Linked DNA regions of Homo sapiens: all the other regions are linked to region 7. The links are contacts of gene promoters, found by promoter capture Hi-C in blood cells and fetal thymus (Javierre and others, 2016). All regions are on one chromosome and are shown on one strand. The core of a region is centred on a gene start or on the middle of the fragment in contact, and the rest is flanking DNA. Distances in the headings are between cores, read along the strand shown.

Evidence for each region. The method cuts DNA at HindIII sites, captures the fragments that hold promoters and counts their contacts. A CHiCAGO score of 5 or more calls a contact.
Region 1: a fragment that was not itself captured here is called in contact with the fragment with the promoter of BAZ2B in region 7 in 1 of 17 cell types (erythroblasts); the score reaches 6.1 in erythroblasts.
Region 2: a fragment that was not itself captured here is called in contact with the fragment with the promoter of BAZ2B in region 7 in 1 of 17 cell types (megakaryocytes); the score reaches 5.1 in megakaryocytes.
Region 3: a contact is called between a fragment that was not itself captured here and the fragment with the promoter of BAZ2B in region 7, in 2 of 17 cell types (neutrophils and monocytes). The highest score is 10.3, in neutrophils.
Region 4: a fragment that was not itself captured here is called in contact with the fragment with the promoter of BAZ2B in region 7 in 1 of 17 cell types (erythroblasts); the score reaches 6.8 in erythroblasts.
Region 5: a fragment that was not itself captured here is called in contact with the fragment with the promoter of BAZ2B in region 7 in 1 of 17 cell types (neutrophils); the score reaches 6.5 in neutrophils.
Region 6: a fragment that was not itself captured here is called in contact with the fragment with the promoter of BAZ2B in region 7 in 1 of 17 cell types (megakaryocytes); the score reaches 7.2 in megakaryocytes.

The regions. Positions count from the first base shown.
Region 1 is chr2:159,123,008-159,125,717 of GRCh38, forward strand. All of the region lies in intron 4 of TANC1 (tetratricopeptide repeat, ankyrin repeat and coiled-coil containing 1), which reads left to right. Among named protein-coding and RNA genes, the nearest start is that of MIR6888, 62 kb to the right of the region's middle. RefSeq lists enhancers at 580-1,093, 1,094-1,605. The HindIII fragment of the contact is 1,916 bases long and covers 441-2,356 here.
Region 2 is chr2:159,165,457-159,168,342 of GRCh38, forward strand. All of the region lies in intron 8 of TANC1 (tetratricopeptide repeat, ankyrin repeat and coiled-coil containing 1), which reads left to right. Among named protein-coding and RNA genes, the nearest start is that of MIR6888, 20 kb to the right of the region's middle. The HindIII fragment of the contact is 3,806 bases long and covers 1-2,886 here.
Region 3 is chr2:159,897,227-159,899,926 of GRCh38, forward strand. It overlaps LY75-CD302 (LY75-CD302 readthrough), which reads right to left. Exons shown (of 38, transcript NM_001198760.1): 2 at 1,462-1,833. LY75 (lymphocyte antigen 75) reads right to left here. Exons shown (of 35, transcript NM_002349.4): 2 at 1,462-1,833. Among named protein-coding and RNA genes, the nearest start is that of LY75, 6.2 kb to the right of the region's middle. The HindIII fragment of the contact is 3,516 bases long and covers 1-2,700 here.
Region 4 is chr2:159,140,289-159,143,095 of GRCh38, forward strand. All of the region lies in intron 5 of TANC1 (tetratricopeptide repeat, ankyrin repeat and coiled-coil containing 1), which reads left to right. Among named protein-coding and RNA genes, the nearest start is that of MIR6888, 45 kb to the right of the region's middle. The HindIII fragment of the contact is 4,627 bases long and covers 1-2,807 here.
Region 5 is chr2:159,927,712-159,930,444 of GRCh38, forward strand. It overlaps a transcript of PLA2R1 not described here. Among named protein-coding and RNA genes, the nearest start is that of LY75-CD302, 24 kb to the left of the region's middle. The HindIII fragment of the contact is 4,816 bases long and covers 1-2,733 here.
Region 6 is chr2:159,274,751-159,277,450 of GRCh38, forward strand. WDSUB1 (WD repeat, sterile alpha motif and U-box domain containing 1) reads right to left here. Exons shown (of 11, transcript NM_001128212.3): 4 at 796-888. Among named protein-coding and RNA genes, the nearest start is that of WDSUB1, 11 kb to the right of the region's middle. The HindIII fragment of the contact is 2,030 bases long and covers 400-2,429 here.
Region 7 is chr2:159,614,993-159,617,815 of GRCh38, forward strand. BAZ2B (bromodomain adjacent to zinc finger domain 2B) reads right to left here and starts at 1,556. Exons shown (of 37, transcript NM_013450.4): 1 at 1,250-1,556. It overlaps BAZ2B-AS1 (BAZ2B antisense RNA 1), which reads left to right and starts at 302. Exons shown (of 2, transcript NR_110588.1): 1 at 302-461; 2 at 758-2,823. RefSeq lists enhancers at 1-35, 1,092-1,618, 1,246-1,325, 1,576-1,645. The HindIII fragment of the contact is 3,593 bases long and covers 1-2,792 here.

The DNA.
Region 1 (2,710 bases), core at 149-2,648, 490 kb before region 7:
CTAATCTGATTAAACTCATAAATCCTATTAAGAGCAACAGTGCTTACAGGTATTTCTCTAGAGACAATTGCGTTCTGCATCTCTGTTCCCTGTTCTTGCCCTTGATCTCTGCACCCTGATCTTGGCCCATGAGTGCAGGTAGAGGATTCGCTGTGTGTGGATGTATGCAGATGCATGCCAGAGCAGGTAGGTGTGAGGATGGGGCTGAAGAATTTCCTTCAGGTGCTCCCTTCCGATGGTGATTTTTTTCTGTATAGGGCGAAGGGTGGAGTGTGTATGTGCGTGTATTAGATTTGTTGGAGAAGGCTGGGATAGTCTTGACCTGGTCACTGTGGAGGATGGAAAGAGAGAGTGCTATTGAGTGAGACATAGGACTGCTCTGCCTTCACCCTCTCCTGGCTGGTTAGGGAGGGGTCGTGGAGCACCTTCTAATCAGTGGAAGCTTTCAAGGGACTGGGCTGGGACCCACGCTCCCCTCACCCCACCTCAACCCCTCCAACACCTCCCCATATCTCCCTTCTCACATTCCTCCCCTTACTTCTGAATCTCCTGCCCTGACAGAAATGAAATGGAATTCTGTGGTAGCCACTGTACTGAGTAAATATTGGAGAAGACATTCCCAAATTACAGGATTTCTTAGAAGTTACTAATTTATAGCAAATGAGTATAATTTACTTAAAAAGCAGAAATAAACTTTTTCTTATTGAAATATATATTTGTGCCCCACCTGAGTACATAGCTCTGTGCTAAACACTGTAAAGAAGCTAAACAGAGACAAAGTTCTCTTCCTCCAACTGCTTTTACTTCGTTTAGGAAATGGAAAGAGTAAAACCCCCTGCCTCCCACCTCTGTGGTCCCATTCAGTGACGCCAGTCTCCCCTCGTGCCCCCAGCCTCAGGTACAGCTCAATCGCTGCCTTCCTCCCTCCCGCTGCTGTTTTTCCCAAGTCATTTAACATCATACTGTTTTGTCTTCATACTTGAATTTTGAGCTTTCTTGGGCTGTGGGCAAGGTCTTGCATAGCTACTCCAGACAGGCCGTGCCAGTGGGTTTCAAACTTGAGTGGGAGGCCAGGTGAGGTGGCTCACACCTATAATCCCAGCACTTTGGGAAGCTGAGGCGGGCGGATCATTTGAGGTCTGGTGTTCGAGACCAGCCTGGCCAACATAGTGAAACCCTGTCTCTACTAAAAATACAAAAATTAGCCGGGTGTGGTGGTGCCTGTCTGTAGGAGGCTGAGGCATAAGAATCACTTGAACCTGGGAGGCAGAGGTTGCAGTGAGCTGAGATCGCACCACTGCACTCCATCCTGGGCGACGGAACGAGATTTTGTCTCAAAAACAAAAAACAAGCCTGAGTGGGGCATCGGAATCACTCTGTGGTCTGGGGAGGGGCTGAGAATTTGCATGTCTAATAAGTTCGCAGGTGATGCTGTTGCTGTTGGTCCAGGGGCTGGTCTGAACCCACAGGGAAAGAAAATTCTCAAGGATCCTGCCTTCCTTTTGGAGTCAGTTACTTCAGGCAGTGGAGGGCTCACTTCCTCCTTGTGCAAACAACAGAAGAGCCCTGTGGCTTAAGGCCTACTTCCTGAGTTCCTTAGACAAACTCTGAAATTAGCCATTCTAGGAAGATCGATCTTTCCTCCAGGGATATCTTTAAATCAAAGTTTGTGGTTGTTCAATTGTTTGTAGCTATTTTCTTAACCATTCCTACAAAGCTAAGGAAATCAGCTGCATTTTTTTTTTTTCCAGAGACAGGGCCTCATTTTATCACCCAGACTGGAGTACAGTAGCATGAGCATGACTCACTGCAGCCTCGACTTGTGTGATCCTCCCGCCTCAGCTCTCCCCACCCCCCGCCCTCCTCACCAAGTACAGGCACGCACCACCATGCCCAGCTAATTTTTGTATTTTTTTGTAGAGATGGAGTTTCACCATGTTTCCCAGGCTGGTCCTGAACTCCTGGGCTCAAGTGATCCTCCCACCTCAGCCTCACAAAGTGCTGGGATTTCAGGCGTGAGCCACCATGCCCAGCTGGTATTAGATTCTTTATGGCACATTGTAATTACTACCAAAAGTCAGAGGAAGTAAGAGCTAGAGATTTCCTCCTTGTGAGCTCACAACCAGGCATGAATGAAAATAAGGCTTAGGTGGAGTTCTGCCCATACAGATTTATTAGTAGGCTGTCACAGCACAGCCACACAACCTGCTTTATACGCCTGGTGAGGCTCCAGCTTTGTCCTTTTCAGGAGTCTGCTCTGACAGCAGCTTGCATTTGGTGTTTACCTGTAGCACATGAGACAGTGTTTCATAGACATTATGTCAGTGTTTTATTGCTGCCCTGAGAAATTACTACAAGCTTATCTTAAATCTATTATCTCACAATTCTTTAGGACAGAAGTCCAGGCACATCTGGCTCTCTTCTCTAGGTTTCCTTAGGCCAAAATCAAGACGGTAGCAGGGTGGTGTTCTGTTAAGGCTCAGGGGATGAACCACTTCCAGGCTCATTCAGGAGGGCAGAATTCAGTTCCATGTGACTGTAGGACTGAGGTCCCCATTCCTTCCTTCCTCCCTCCCTCCCTTCCTTCCTTCCTTCCTTTTTTGACAGAGTCTTACTCTGTTGCCCAGGCTGGAGTGCAGTGTCGTGATCTCGGCTCACTGCAACCTCCGACTCCCGGGTTCAAGCAATTCTCCTGCCTCAGCCTCCTGAG
Region 2 (2,886 bases), core at 136-2,635, 450 kb before region 7:
AGCAAAGGCCTATTTCATGATATCTGTTAACAAGCTAGGAGTCTGGTAGATTCTTCATTGCCTCCCTTCCTGCCCCTGAAGTTGAATCTCAGTTAAGAGGAAATGGCAAGATTTTTCAAGTACCATTGAAGAGTAAGATTCAGGTTGTATAGACTCTATGCAGCACTATTTAGTGATTAGAAGGCAGGCTGCTACAAACAGGGCAGCAGAGAACACTCAGTGTTAGAAGAATCAGAATAATATGTGAAGGACCGTATACAGAAATCTCTTAGAAGTATTTGCATGTTATGATCCAGGTAAACAAATTGCCTTTTGGTGGGAAAGGTGTTTTGGCATATGAGGATTGGCAGGTAAAGGAAGGGTGATGCCAGACCTCTGTTCACAGCCTCCTCATGGGGCTGGCCCCTAGGGGATTGGGTGCAGAAGTTCTTCCTAAGGTCCTTTATTGAGCTTGCTACAGAGAATGAAATTGTCTGTTAACCATGTAGTACAGTGACAGGTTTTTTTATTTTTATTTTTTGACAAAGATTATAAAAATAAGTTGGCTAGGTTTAAAGATTATTTCACTATACAGATTTTCTTTGTAAAGATATTTATTAGAGTGGGATTGGTTTGGACAACTATATATCACATCAAAATGCATGACATGGACACCTCTTTCCTTTATTAAAAACAGACCTAGAAGCCTTTAAAGGTATGTTTTAAATCAGAAAGAAGTTGGGTAATGGGTTCTATTTTTTACCTTTCAAAATACTTTCTGAGTGGATTATAGAACACTGTGTTTAATTTTCCAGGAAACAAGCATGATTGCTATCCAGTTTTCCTAAAACTGGTCATTGCCCTGGACTTATTGGCATGGACTTTCCATAGGTTAGACCACAACTTTAGCAAATGTTCTTCTTTGTTCAGCTTAGAGATGTCTCCCTCTGCCTTGCCCCACCAAGCCCACCCTCACCAAAAAACGGACTTTCCTCCACATCTTGAAATGTGCTTCTTATCCAGATGTTAGATATGGTGTGTGTGTGTGTGTGTGCACAACAAGTGTATAATTAATTTCGCTGTAGAGATTCTAGCAGTGGGTTTATTGTAGCATGAAATTATTGCTTTACCTTTGGGTTTTTGGGGCCCTGAGTAGTGTCTAGGATTTTGAAAGCGTTTATGGGTAAATACTGAATGTGAGTCTGACTTTTGCATAGGTAACAACTGAGAATCTACTGTAGGCATGCCTGAGAGGGCAGAGTGGCCCAAGTTACCTGCTCAGAGGGTGGGGAGCACCTGGGCACATAGCTAAGCCACTGAAATCTTCCTGCCCTATTCACTGGCACCTCTATTGGTGGCTTCGAAAATGCCTCAGAAAGCTGAGATAGCTGGCAGGTGGTGGCTTATGGCCCTGCTGCAGCTTTCAGCTCGGCTTAATCGTATTTGAAATTGAGAATCAGCCAAGAGCTGTGGAAGTGCTGAGGCTGCTCTGTTGCAGATTTTGGTGCCGAAGCTCTAGTGGCTGGGAATCTGAAAACAGGCCTGTGGAATCTTAACATCTCCTGTACCTGTTTAGATACAATCTAGGGCATTTTTGCAATCCTTTATTTGGAATGTCTTTTATGGTCACATATTTTTAATCCTTTCAGTTGTTATAAATTTATAAACTGTTCTAAGGAGTCAGGGGAAGAAGGGAAATAGGCAACACTTTTGAGGCTCTAAAGCATCTTTTTATTCTCTAGGGCTGCAGCATTATGTCAGATGTTCATGACTGTTCTGGCTCTGAAATGAATTACGGGTTATGAATATGGCTGCCTGCCCCTTCTACCTGTGCCTTGGTGGGTGCATTCACCATGAGGCATGTGAGGAGAAGGGTCTCAGTGCTCAGGCAGGAGCCTAGAAAATGTTCCAAGCTGTGTTACTGTAGGGAGGTAAGAAGGTTTGGGGAAGACAGTGTAGTCCTGTTAGCCCTCCGGGAGATTTTATACACCCTACTTATGAAGGGCCTAGAGAGAAGCTAGACGCTGTCCTTGGATTACCGTACATTCGATCCATTTAAAATCCCCAACAAGTAATTAGCTGAGTCTTTCTAATGGGAAAGATTTGTGTGGTAGCTGGCAAAGTGCATAGAATATTCACTTAAATGTGTATACACTGTGGATATGCACCAGGAGGATACAGAGGCATAGGTGCATGCTGTCGTGAAGTCAAGGTTTCAGGTGTTTCTTGCTCGCTGGGAGGATGAGTAGGCAGGGCACGTGTTGGATTGCCCTTTGGAGGATGCAGCGAGAGGGGATATGCCAACACAGTCAGGCCTGGAGCCACCCAGGTGGCTGTTGAATGAAGGAATGAGAGAGGATGATATGGATAGTGAGGAAGAGAAGGACTGAGATCTTAGTAGGGGGAAATGGAAGGGTGCAGGTAGGACGGATGGCACTGGTCGGCAGCTGGATGCTGGGTCAGAGCCTGTTGGGCAGCCAGAGGGTTTTCAGAAGACAGATGGCCCAACTCGACTTCTGTCCCCTGCACCTTGGTCCCACTGAAGATGTCCCCAGTGCTAAGAAGGCTTTACCCAGGCACTATGTCTCCCTCTAGGCTCTCATTTGCCCTCAAGTCACTGTATATTTTCTTGTCCTGAAAGATAATAATCTGACTAAGATCAACAGTACTTCATGTTGGGCTTAACCCATAAACCAAATTAGGTTAATTTTAGATTTTCCTCAATGTAATAACAGGAGGGGTTTTTAAAAGGCAAAAACGTGTACTATGTACTTGCTTCTAAGATTTCTTGAGAATTAGCAAAATTATTTTGCGGTAGTTGTTTTTGTAATCTAACTCGTATGAATGTTTGAATAGATCTTTAATTTTTTTTTTTTTTTTTTGAGACAGAGTTTTGCTCTGTCACCC
Region 3 (2,700 bases), core at 196-2,695, 280 kb after region 7:
ACCCTGCCAAGAAAATTATCCTTTCTGATCCCTGGACAAATACAATGAAACAAGTTAAATCCAATTAAAAGGCATTTTGTTTGGCTCTGTGTTTCCTCTTAGTTGGCAAGTTGGAGAAGGGCTTTTGTGGCACAGAATTTAAATTTGCCATTAAGTCATATCCAAAAAGCAACTGCTTTACTTTTAGGAGGAAACTGGCTCGCAGAAACAGACTGTCAACTATTCAAAGGCCAGGGAATGATGAAAAGGAAACCCTATCTCTAATTCTCTAATATTTCTCCACAACAGAACTTGACATTCTCAGAATAATTCTTGCATCCTCACTAGGAAATAGAAAGCTAGAAAGAAAAACTTGTGCAGATGGATAATGGAAAGTATGGGAGCAAGCTGCTATAGTGACTTTGAGGCCAAATTTAGCTTAAATGATCTTTAAGAGAAGAAGAAAGCCACTGTAAAGCTAGGGAAATTTGTAAAGAAAGGCAAGGGGAAATAATAGGACTTAGAGGACATAATTATATGCATATCGACATTTGGTGTAATTTAGAGCAACATAATGAAAAATATTTGCTTGGGAGATAGCTAATTACATTTAATGGTTAAAAAAATAAATCTACTCATTCTTTAACTTAGAAATTAGTTGCAATCCAGTCCCTAGACTCAGGGCTAAGTCCATGGTCCGCTCCCCGCAAGGCAATATTAATATACTTATTTTCGGAAGCAACTGAAAAACTCCACTCTTAAAATGCTGAATCATAAATATAAACATCAAAATTTGGTTGCCATGCAAAAATGAAAATAAATAAGAAAATCCACTCAAAATTTTCCCATTTTATTCAAAATCCGTAGGCAAGAAAAAATATATTTTTCCTCCTTCTCCTTCTTTTCTTTTTTAAGGATGGGTGTCTCACTATGTTGCCCAGGCTGAAGTGCAGTGGCTATTCACAGGCGTGATCATTACACACTACAGCCTTGAACTCCTGTGTGCTCAAGTGATCCTGCTGCCTCAGTCTCTCGAGAAGCTGGGACCGCAACCATGCACCACTACGCCTGACCTTTCTTCTTCTTTTAAAACTTAGAATAAGATCAACATTATTAGATCATTTGACTTTTAGCCTGTACAAATCTAATGATTCCTTTCCTCTAGGGTTTCCTTTCCTCTAGGGTTTAGAAGACCATCATAAGAAGTACATATCTATCTGATGAAATCCCAGGTTTATCACAACATGGCTGTGTGACCTCAGACAAGGCACTTTATCTCTCTTAGCCTTACCTGCAAAGTAGAGGCAAATACCATGGACTTGTAAGAATGTCGCTCAAAGTAACTGCACAGTGCCTGGAAGTGAAGAGCTTACTCACTGCCCTTACTAATGTACGACTCTATTTTTACTAAATTGTGCATGTTTAATGCCACATGTGACAAGCACAACAGCAAATCGGTCAAAGTCCCTCTCTAATACTCACCATGATAAGGCTGGTCACAAAGGCTTTCCTCTGAGCCTCCTTTCTTCCAGACATCAGATGCATTTGAGATTGCTGTGCCATGTCCATCCTTCAGAGCCAGCCGGTACCGGGCAGCTCCGTACAGAGAGTGGTGCTCACATTTCCACCACAGCATGGCACTGGAGTCACAGCTGAACATTCTCAGCTCATTTACCGATTTGGTAATATCGAGGCCAAGGCACTTTTGGGAGTGCAAATGAAAGAGCCGATGCTGGGACACCCACTTCCATAACTTGTCCTCAGTTTCATCACAGTCGTCTGCTACTATCCAGCCATACACTGGCTTGATGCACTTGCCCGTATTTCCATGGACGATGGTGAAGGGGTCATTAGCTGAGTCAAATGGACAGACAGATTGTAGATTATGTGGTTGAAGCGCCTTGCTCCCTGCCTGCTGAGGAGAGTCTGAGCACTACTGGACTGTTCCCATCCTCAGTCTGTTCCCACTCTTTTTAAGCTGCAGGGGACTACAAAAGGTGGGACAGTGGTGAGCAGAGAGGCAGTGCAGTGTGTAGGGTCAGAACACGGGCTCTGGAGCCAGTCCGCCTGGGTCCATATTTTGCTCCTGCTACTTGTTAGCCATAGGATCAGGGCAAATCATTTAACCTCTGTGCTCCAGTTTTCATATGATGGTTGTGAGCATGAAAGGAGCTAATCCATGTAAAGCGTGTAGAGTAGCATGTATATTTGTTGTTGCTATTTCATGAAAGATTTTTCCCTTCTCATTTAATAAGACAAAAGAAGCTCTTTAGTTTTCATCTCAATGAAAAGTCTAGTTGGGACCATAATTCTGCCTTGCTTACATGTTAGCTACTACGGCAGGGTAAATTATTACATGAAAAGTCGATGCTTAACACAGCATGTGCACTATATATATGTTCCTTTCTTCAGATCCAAGTACATAGTGAGGCCTCTGTGCTCCTCTGCCTTAGGGCAAGTTAGTGGGGCCACTAAAAAGGAAAACTTAAGGACAATTTTCTTAAAGACCACTTCCCCCTAGATATTTTTTGGAGACCTAAATTCATTGAGGTATCTCAGAGGAAATGGGGAAATTTCTGAGGGAGCAGCAGAACAGTGGGGTACAGAAACAAGAAGAAACAGAGGTCTGGGTTCTGAGGGTAGAACCTGTGGCCAGCTCCACTGTGGCAGTTTCATTGTCCTCAGTTTCATCACAGTCGTCTGCAACTATCCAGCCATACA
Region 4 (2,807 bases), core at 202-2,701, 470 kb before region 7:
CCCTTTCTTTCCCAAGAGGTAACCTTGATCCTGCTTTAATTTTCAGCTTCTTAGAATGGCAGTGCAACATTCAACCAATGGTTGAATGAGGTTTTATTTGATGGAAGTATAGAAAAGGGGCATACCTGGTATGTGTGCACAGAAGAGAGACTCTTGGAAGTAGAGTATCCATTCATTCTGCATTTCCTTGAATAAGTATTCAGTTTCTATGCTGTGAAAAAACACTATGCTAAATGCTATTTGAGATGGGTTATCAAGCATGGGTCCTGTCTTTATGGAGCCTTAGAGTCTGGCAGGGGATTAGAGACCTGTATATGGCGTGACTGTAATAAAGGAGGAAGTAATGACTAATCCAAGCTGTGTGATGAACTAGGAGTTCAGCAGATGGAGATTCTCTATTTTTTTTTTTTTTTTTTTTTGAGATGGAGCTTCATTCTTGTTGCCCAGACTGGAGTGCAGTGGCACAGTCTCGGCTCACTGCAACCTCTGCCTCCTGGGTTCAAGCGATTCTTTTGCCTCAGCCTCCCGAGTAGCTGGGATTACAGGCACCCACCGCCACACCCGGCTAATTTTTGTATTTTTAGTAGAGACAGAGTTTTGCCATGTTAGCCAAGCTGGTCTCAAACTCCTGACCTCAGGTGACCCACCCGCCTTGGCCTCCCAAAGTGCCAGGATTACAAGTGCGAACCACTATGCTTGGCCAGCAGATGGAGATTCTGAGCATGGAAAGACTTAATTGTAGCTATGCCTTAAGATTTACCTGTTGTCTTAGTTCAGGCTGCTATAACAAAAATACCATAAACTGAGTGGTTGATAAACAACAGTAATTTATTTCTTAGATTTGTGCAGGATGGAAAGTCCAAGATCAAGGTAGTCTGCAGATTTGGGGTCTGGCAAAGGCCTACTTGCTGGTTCATAGACAGCCATCTTTTTGCTGTAACCTCATGTAGTGGAAGGGACAAACAAGCTCCCTCATTTATAAGGTCACTAATCCCATTCTGAGACACAGACATTCAGACTATAGTACGTGGCAACAGAGTAGGATGGAGTGGGACTGGAAAGAGACTACGGTTAAGAATGATTAAAAAATTGTTTTAGTAATTAAGTGAGAGGATAAAGTCTCAAATTAGTTCAGGTTCAGTGAAGAAGAGGTGGTGAATGGAAGATTCTTGAGGAATTGCAAGGACCTGGGAACTGAAAAAGACAGAGACAACAACTTCACGCCTTTGAGACCACATTAAGGGACACTGGAGGAGCAGGGACTGTGTTTTGGTTTGAGTTCAGTTTCAGGCATGGAGACTTCAAAGTGCTGGTGGAACATCTTCGCAAGTGTCCAGCCACCAGTTGGAAAATCAAACTGGGTATCAAGAAAGAGCTCAGGATATAAACTGGTCAGCCATTTGCTTGGAAGTAATGCTGTGAGACTAGGCAAGTTACAGTAGGGAAACAGGTCGTTGACAAAAGAGGGCTGAGAAACTGGTATTTCATTTATGAGCTGGGACTAAGGTGCAAGGAGCACCAGCAAGAGGGACAGGAAAAGACCACACAAGACCACAGTATTCTGGTAATCATGGATTTTTCCCTCTGTGTGTCTCTTACAACAATTGCCACTTTATACCTTGCAGGACAGAGTGCTTGCAAGGCCGTAGATCTACAGGAAAATCAAAAGAGAAGGTGTACTACAAAAAAGGAAAAAGAAAAATTAATGTGCTTAACAGGGCTGTTTCAGGAGACTTGTGAAGGTCTGTGACTTGAAGTTATAGGTATGTGATAAGGAAATGGAATTGGTGAGAATAGAGAGCCCTCTTTTACCCCCAAATTAAACAGATAAAGATGGGAGATCAGTTACTAGGATGAGAGATGTGTGCAGCTGTGGTTTTTATTTAACACAGTTGTAGACTTAATTCAGAGGTTCTGACAGTGTAGGCTGTGGACTTCTAGTCCCCAAGACACTTTCAGGGGTTTGTGATGTCAAAACTCTTTATAATAGTACAAAACCCTTTTGTAATAATACGGAGAAGGTATTTACATTTCCCTTTGTTGACATTTGCACTGATGCTGCAAAAGCAATTGTTGGTAAAACTTCTGATACCTTAGTATATGTCAAGGCACTGGCTACACTGGTAGTCCTGGTGTTCTTCACTGCCAAGTGCTGGCTTCACAAATAATTCACTGAAGAATGTCCTTGATGAAGCACTAAAAGTAATGTTATTAAATCTTGACCCTTGGAGACCCATCTTTTTAATATTCTGTGTGATGAAGTGGGAAGTCTGAGTAAAGCCCTTCTGCATGCTCGGAAGTCTGATGGTTTTCTTGAGGCAGAGCACTTGTATGATTGAATTGCAAGCTGAACTCGCTACTTTTAAAATGGAATATTGTTTTTATTTGAAAGAATGACTGACAACCCATGGTTATTCTGAAGTAGGTATTTGGCACATTTTTTCTTCAACAGGAATGAAATTAGCCTGGCACTTCAATAGAAAAAAAAAAAAAGGCCAGGCACGATGGCTGACACCTGTAATCCTAGCAATTTGGGAGGCCAAGGCGGGCGGATTGCCTGAGGTCAGGAGTTTGAGACCAGCCTGGCCAACATGGTGAAACCTTGTCTCTACTAAAAATACAAAACTAACTGGGCATGGTGGTGGGCACCTGTAATCCCAGCTACTCGGGAGGCTGAGGCAGGAGAATTGCTTGAACCCAGGAGTTGGTGGTTGCTGTGAGCCAAGATTGCACCACTGCACTCCAGCCTGGGCCACAGAGCGAGACTCTGTCTCAAAAAAAAAAAAAAAACAACAAAACAAAACAAA
Region 5 (2,733 bases), core at 75-2,574, 310 kb after region 7:
CTGATTTTATGGTCTGATAGCATAGACTCTTTCATTATCCCTGGTCTACGATGACCCACATTCCTCTTAACCTCCTCCTTTCTTGCAGTGTTCTGGGGTCAGTCACACTGCAAGACACCCAGATCAGAACTGGGAATCATGAGATTAGTTCTCATGTATTGCCACAAATTAGCCATGTATTACTGGTGAAATCAAAGAATATTTCTAAGTCTTGCTTTTGTCATCTGTAAAACTGTGCTTAAAACAGATTTGTGATCTCTCAAATACTACCATGTAATAAGAGAGATGAGAGCTGGTAGAAGTGGCCTAGTTGTCTTCAAAGAAAAGGAAGGCTGTGTGGAGATGGACTGGAACTTAAAGATGACCATTATGTCTCAGGCCTGGTTCCTGGTTTCAAGCCACAGAAACATACTCTTTTCTGGTCCAGGGGATGCCATGCTTTGGCTTACTCAACTAAACACCTGCAAAAGCTGAGGTAGATGTCGTAATGCCAATATATGACTGTTCTGCCATCTAAGAAAGCCTGGTGTCCCTGTTGTGGAATCACTGCACCATGACAAGTTCCTCAGGTCTAGACCCCCTTTCTGGTGAGACTGCCCACACCTATGCACCTCCTACAGCAATGTTCCAGAGCTGCCACTGCCCAAACAAAATCATACATGAGACTGAGGAGGACATCACAATGTCAGTTTATTAATTTACAAGGAGAAATAAAATGTTTAGGAATATACTTAACCAAGGAGGTGAAAGACCTCTACAAGGAAAGCTATAAAACACTGCTGAAAGAAAGCATACATGACACAAACGAATGGGAACACATACCATGTTCATGGATAGGTGGAATCAATATTGTGAAAATGACCATACTGCCAAAAGCAATCTACAAATTCAATGCATTTCCCATCAAAATACTACCATAATTCTTCACAGAACTAGAAAAAAAATCCTAAAATTCATATGGAACCAAAAAAGAACCCACATAGCCAAAGCAAGACTAAGCAAAAAGAACAAATCTGGAAGCATCACATTATCTGACTTCAAACTATAAGGCCATAGTCACCAAAACAGCATGGTACTGGTATAAAAATAGTCACATAGACCAATGGAACAGAATAGAGATCTCAGAAATAAAGCCAAATACTTACAGCCAACTGATCTTCAACAAAGCAAACAAAAACATAAAGTGGGGAAAGGACACTCCACTCAACAAATGGTTCAGGGATAATTGGCAAGCCACATGTAGAAGAATGAAACTGGATCCTCATCTCTCACCTTATACAAAAATCAACTCAAGATGAATCAAGGACTTACATCTAAGACTTGAAACCATAAACATTCTAGAAGATAACATTGGAAAAACCCTTCTAGACATTGGCTTAGGCAAAGACTTCATGACCAAGAACCCAAAAGCAAATGCAACAAAAACAAAGATAAATAGACAAGACTTAATTAAACTAAAGAGCTTCTGCACAGCAAAAGAAACAATCAGCAGAGTACACAGACAACCTACAGAGTGGGAGAAAATCTTCACAATATATACATCTGACAAAGGACTAACATCCAGAATCGACATGGAACTCAAACAAATTAGCAAGGAAAAAACAATCCCACCAAAAAGTGGACTAAGGACATGAATACACAATTCTCAAAAGAAGATACACAAATGGCCAACAAACATATGAAAAAATGCTCGACATCACTGATGATCAGGGGAAATGCAAATTGAAACCATAATGTGATACCACTTTACTCCTGCAAGAATGGCCATAACCAAAAAAATATAAAAAAATAGATGTTGGTGTGGATGTGGTGAAAAGGGAACACTTTTACACTGCTGGTGGGAATGTAAACTAGTACAACCACTATGGAAAACAGTGTGGAGATTCCTTTAAGAACTAAAGGTAGAACTACCATTCGATCCAGCAATCCCACTACTGGCTGTCTACCCAGAGGAAAAGATGACATTATACCAAAAAGATAACTTGTACACGCATGTTCATAGCAGCACAATTCGCAATTGCAAAAATGTGGGACCAGCCCAAATGCCCATCAATCAATGAGTGGATAAAGAAATTGTATATGTATATGTATATATCTATATGTATATGTATATATATGTGCATGTATATGTATTATATATTTGTGTGTGTGTGTGTGTGTGTATATATATATATATGAATACTAATCAGCCATAAAAAGGAATGAAATAATGGCATTCGCAGTGACCTGGATGGAATTGGAGACAATTATTCTAAGTGAAGTCACTCAGGAATGGAAAACCAAACGTCGTATGTTCTCACTCATAAGTGGGAGCTAAGCTATGAGGACCCAAAGGCATAAGAATGATATGATGGACTTTGGGGACTCAGGGGGAAGGGTGGGAGAGAGATGAGGGATAAAAGACTACACATTGGTGGCCAGGCGCGGTGGCTCACGCCGGTAATCCCAGCACTTTGGGAGGCCAAGGCGGGTGGATCACGAGGTCAGGAGATCGAGGCCATCCTGGCTAACACGGTGAAACCCCGTCTCTACTAAAAATACAAAAAATTAGCCAGGCATGGTGGCACGCGCCTGTAGTCCCAGCTACTTGGCAGGCTGAGGCAGGAGAATGGCGTGAACCTGGGAGGCAGAGCTTGCAGTGAGCAGGGATTGTGCCACTACACTCCAGCCTGGGAGACAGAGCGAGACTCCGTCTCAAAAAAAAAAAAAAAGACTACACATTGGTTACAGCGT
Region 6 (2,700 bases), core at 165-2,664, 340 kb before region 7:
CTAATTCTTAAATGCAAACAGAGTACTAAGCAAAAAGGGGACTCAACTGCAAACAAAGATCAGAAAACAGAAGGGAACTTAAAGCAAAAACTCCTAAATGACATCCTGAGAGTTTTGAGATCTTACATTTATAAAGGACACTATGAAAAGAAAACAAAGAAGATGGTGAGCTTTTAGAATCTGAAAATATGATTAATGCGATAAAACATTCAAAAAAAGGTTAAGACAAAAAGCAGAGAAATTTTCCCCTAAAGTACAAGAAAAGAGAGAGAAATGTGGGGGATAAAAAAAGAGAATCAATTCAGGAGGCCCAACATTCAATTAATGGAAGTTGTAAAAAGAGAGATGAATTAAAGAAATAACATAACGGAATAGTTTATTCCAAAACTGTACAAAATAAGCTTCCTGACTGAAAGGGTCACCTGATGGAATAGTACAATGGATGGGAAAAGACCCACACACTAACAAAAAGCAGTACCTACAGTGAATAAATAAAAAAATGTAGTGGTATAAACAGTGTTTACAGAAACTGTGAAAACCACAAAGGAGTTGAAATCAAGTGCAAAGTGGTCACCTCTGGTGAGCAGAAATGTGCATGGCAGTAGAATGGGTGAGGTCATGATCATCAATGAGCATCTGATTTTTAAATCATGTGTATTATTTTGACTAAAAGTTTCTTAAACCATATTTTAATACTTACTTTTAGATACTCAAGGTACCTTAAGTAAAAAGATTAAATAGAAATTTTATCCAGACCACAAATAATTTTAGAGAAGCACTATTTGGCATACATACCTAAGATATGGGTAAAAGAAACAATCCAAATTTTGACTTGGCAATCCTGACCACATGATGCCAGTCGAAAAAACTGAAGACCTTGTTCTCCATCTAAAATTTATTAAAAATAAATACAGAGAATTTGTAAAACACTGAAACCCCCCCAAAATTCCCATTTCTTATACTAAGATCTATTAATTCTACTCATTTAAACCATGTTCACAAGTTATTAGTTAACTTATATCATTTAACAAAATGCTGATTAAAGAATTTCTTTTAAACAAGGTACTATGTGGGATTATTAGTCCTCAAGTTGCTACAAAAAAATACCTTTCATTTTCCTTCCTCAAAGAATAGAACTCAAGGCTGCAAGGACCAATATTGAGCCACTCAATAGAGCATCCTCCTCTAACTCAATTTGAGAGTCTATGAGGCTAGCACTGATAGGAAAAATCAGGAAGAAAAGTCAGTTACTTTGAGAGTGTTAAATGTTTAATCATTCCTAACCTTTTTTTAAGGTCATAGCAATTTCTTCCTTTTTTTTTTTTTGAGATGGAGTCTCGCTCTGATGCCCAGGCTGGAGTGCAGTGGTGCGATCTTGGCAGCTCACCGCAACCTCCACCTCCCAGGTTCAAGCAATTCTCCTGCCTCAGCCTCCCAAGTAGCTGAGATTACAGGCATGTGCCACCACACCCGGCTAATTTCTGTGTTTTTAGTAGAGACGGGGTTTCCCCATATTGGCCAGGCTGGTCTTGAACTCCTGACCTTGCAATCCGCCTGCCTCAGCCTCCCAAAGTGCTGGGATTACAGGCGTGAGCCACTGCACTGGCCTAAAGTCATATCAATTTCTTAAAAGCCTGATCTATAGTTCACATGGAATAATAATGGGAATTTTTTTCCATCTGATTTAATCAAGCCAAAGGCTGGAATTATAGAAATCAAAAATAACATCAATTCACTCCATTTGGTTGAAAATATTATATTATTTAGGGAAAGTAATCAGTTATATGGTGTCCCAGAAGAGCTACTACATTACACTTACTTAATTTTAGTGTATCATTATATATCTACTAAAGTTCCTAAACAATTTTGGATAATGTAAATATTGACATCATCAATGCAATTTTATACAAGTTGCACCTAATATCACAAGTAGTTTCATCAAGTAAGTTTTGGCACTCATATGCAGTAAAGCACAATTAAGAAATTGAGGCTGGGCATGGTGGCTGAAGTCTGTAATCCCAGCACTTTGAGAGGCTGACACCAGGAGTTTGAGACCAGGCTAGGAAAGATGGTAAGACCCTGTCTCTACAAAAAATTTTTTTAAATTAGCCGGGTGTGGTGGCACACATCTGTAGTTGTAGCTACTTAGGAGGCCGAGGCAGGGGATCTCCTTGAGCCCAGGAGTTTGAGGCTGCAGTGAGCTATGATCACACCACTGCACTCTAGCCTGGATGACGGAGCAAGACCCTGTCACCAAAACAGAAATCTAATATCCATCTTAAGATTGTACTCTGGCTTAACAAATTTTCAGTATATAAAATTTAACAAACGTGTACACCTGGGCATGTAAATTTTTTCTATGGACTCTGCCTCTTTGAAAGTACAAACACTTTACTAACGAACAACAAATTAAATTCCATTTCACTGAAAGCTTTTTTAACTCCATGGGACTTCCATATTTCAATAGCATTTTTGTTTCTTTCTGTAGCATAGATTTACCCAAAATATATCCTTTCTAAGAGAGATCTTGAGGGATACAGGCAATTCCTGATAATCACTGTCTTTTTAAGACAAAACATTTTATTCAATAAATGGCTGAGAGCAAAATATTTCTGTATTAGACCTAATTAGCAACGCTATTTGTTTCTTAACTAAATAGATCCTTTGAAGTTAATTCTGAAGTTCTCTAAGTAGTGAAAA
Region 7 (2,823 bases), core at 306-2,805:
CCAAGATGGCGAAACGCTTGTTGTTTAGAGGGCAGGAAAAAAAATGGAGGATATTGTAATATACACAAAGGGATAAATTTCAACAACTCGGCCAAGGACTGCAGCTGCTTCCCTCTTTATAAGGAAGCAACAGACAAAAGATAAATACAGAGGGAGAAAGAAAAGAAGAGAAAATCTCCCAAACAACAGAGCCAGCTCTGACTCTTCAAACACTTCCTTCCCCTTCTCAAATCCCAATTCTGGGGTTCGTGAAACTACTTAAAGGGGAGGGAGCCGCGAAAGAGAACGGGGGCTGGGGGGAGGGGTAGCGACAAGAAGATTAAAAGAGGGAAGCAGAGGAGTTGGGAGCTGGCGGTCGTTCCCGGGGAAGAACTGCTAAAACATGAGACCAAGGCACAGACCTTACTGTATGAGAAGCAATGCTCCTCAAACCTTCTGCGTGCTGACATAGACCTTCCCAGGTATCCAGATCTTTTCCCAATCCCACCTGCCCCACCCCCACCCCCGCTCATCTTCAGTAAACTCAGAGCCTCCAGCTACACACGGGAGAGCTAGAGGCCCAAGCCGGGGAGTGGGGGTGGCAGACGCAGCTCGTCAGTCCGACAGGGAAGAGGGGGCGGAGGCAAAAAAGGGCAGCAGGAGGCGGACGGGGGTGGGGGGTGATCCAGAAACTACCCCGGCAGGGAGTGGGGGAGCAGCGGATATTCCGGGGTAGGAACGGCCATCGCAACGCTGACAGAGGTTGTTTTTTAAGAAGCAAAACTGTTGGCGGCGACCTGAGCGCTGGAAGCCGAAGGGGAAGAGGAAGGAGACGCGAAGCCAGGGCGGCCGGCACAAAGGCGGCGGACTCGCGGCGGCAGCGCCTGCCCGGCCGGGAGCACAACCCACGGCCCTACTCCAGCGAAGTCCCGCACCGGCTTCTAGGAATAAAGTTTACGTTCTCCTGAGGCCGCACCCCCCACCTCCCACCCAGGACGGCACATCTCCGTGTCCTCCTCCCCCAAACTCCACTCGGGACCCCGAGAACCACCCCAGCCTTCCGGCCACCACAACAAAGAGCCGCACCGACCGGCGAGGATAAACAGCGGCGGAGGGCGAGAGGGCGGCGGGGCGAGCGCCTCCACGCAGCAACTCCGGAGTCCCCCGCTTGCCCGAGCGCAGTTTCTCCGCTGCTGTTTCCACCGGCTTTGTAACACTGGGAATTTACATCCTCACCCGCACCCCTCACGCCCGAGGATTTTAAACTCACCTTTACTCTCGAACTGAGAGTTGCGGTAGATGGGATTTTTGCCTTTTCCCCAGATGGTTGAAGGTTAAGATTTTTGGAAACCCCACCACCTCCTTATTTCTATTATTATTTCTGCAAGAAAAGTATAAAGAGAGTTGTAGTGGAGGTGAGATTTGTGATCGGGAAAGCCTTCGACTCCCTCCTTCTCCGTCTTCCGCCTCTCTCTCTCTGATTAGTTCCTATCCAGCAGCAGATTGAAGCAGGAGATGATTCTTCTCAAGGTTTGTTCAGCAGCTTCACTTCTAGGCGAAGGCTTCATGAACCAAGTGACGTCAACCAACAAGGCTTCTCTCTCTCTCCTCTCTCTAACAATGAAAGTTGCTGTTAACAAGGGAAAAAAAGAGAGAGAATTGTTTATACCATTTCAGTTCCAATAATAAATGACCTATCAGCTCCTAAAGGAGCCAAGGGAGGGGGTTGCTTCTTCTTTCCAAGAATACTGTAGCTTTGAGTTTGCACCGTTCCTTGTCCCAGGAAAAAGTTAAGAAACTTAAAATGTTTTGTTTTGCTTTTAAAGAAGACAGGACAGAAAACGGGATTTAAAACTTAGTTTTTAAAAAAACAAAAGCTACAGAGTAGGGAGCATAGGTCAACCATCTCCACCTAAATTTTTTTTGTTCCTAAACTCAGAATTCTACAACCCAACTAAATTAATATGCCAAGATTTTGCGGATGTTAAAACTCAAAAAAAGCAGTATGCAAGACGGTCCCGGGGTAAAATTCTACTGCCTTTCCACGGACAAGTTAAACTGGCTGTAATGTTTATGCACTAAGTTAAAATAAAATTTAAATAAAAGACGTTAAAATAGTCGTTTTAAAGTTATATGCACACACTGTAAAAGGTAATCTCGATAGCTTTTTTTCAAGTTTCTGAGAGATTAGAAAAAAAGCATAGCAAATTGTAGGCACTGAACACTTTTTAAAAATCAAGTTATGAGTAAGACTGGTAGCCCTTTGCTCCTTTAAACTACAAATGCAGTCATATGCTATGGTCTACCCCCAGAATCTCTTCCAACTTTGTTTTTACCCTTCCACTCCCCCAACCCCAATTCCCAAATCCTGCAACCAATCAAGTTAAACTAAAGATACAATAGGCCCCATTCCCTCCCGCACCCCATCCTATAGATTCCTAAAAACAATTTTTTTAAAAGCCTTAATCTTGATAACACTTTATTAGCCAAGAAGATACGTATTTTTTTTTTTAGAAGTTCGTTGAGGTACCGTTTTTTCCCTCCAGAACACAAGAAAGTCTCAAAGTTCATATAATTAAAAATTGCATAATTTAATTTTCAGGATGAAGAGTAAGTAAAAATTAAGCTATCGGAGAATAATTTGATCATCTATGTATATTTTATACATATGTGGATAAATGTATCTTAAAAGATGCTATTGTTTTATGTTTCCTCTTCAGCCACTGGCTGTGATTTTAATTGTGCTGGAGGATCTTCATTAGTATTAACACATGGGGAGATTTCACAAAGCTGCTTCATTAGGAAAAAAAAAAAGCTTGGCAGACTCGGTCTTTTTGCATGCAC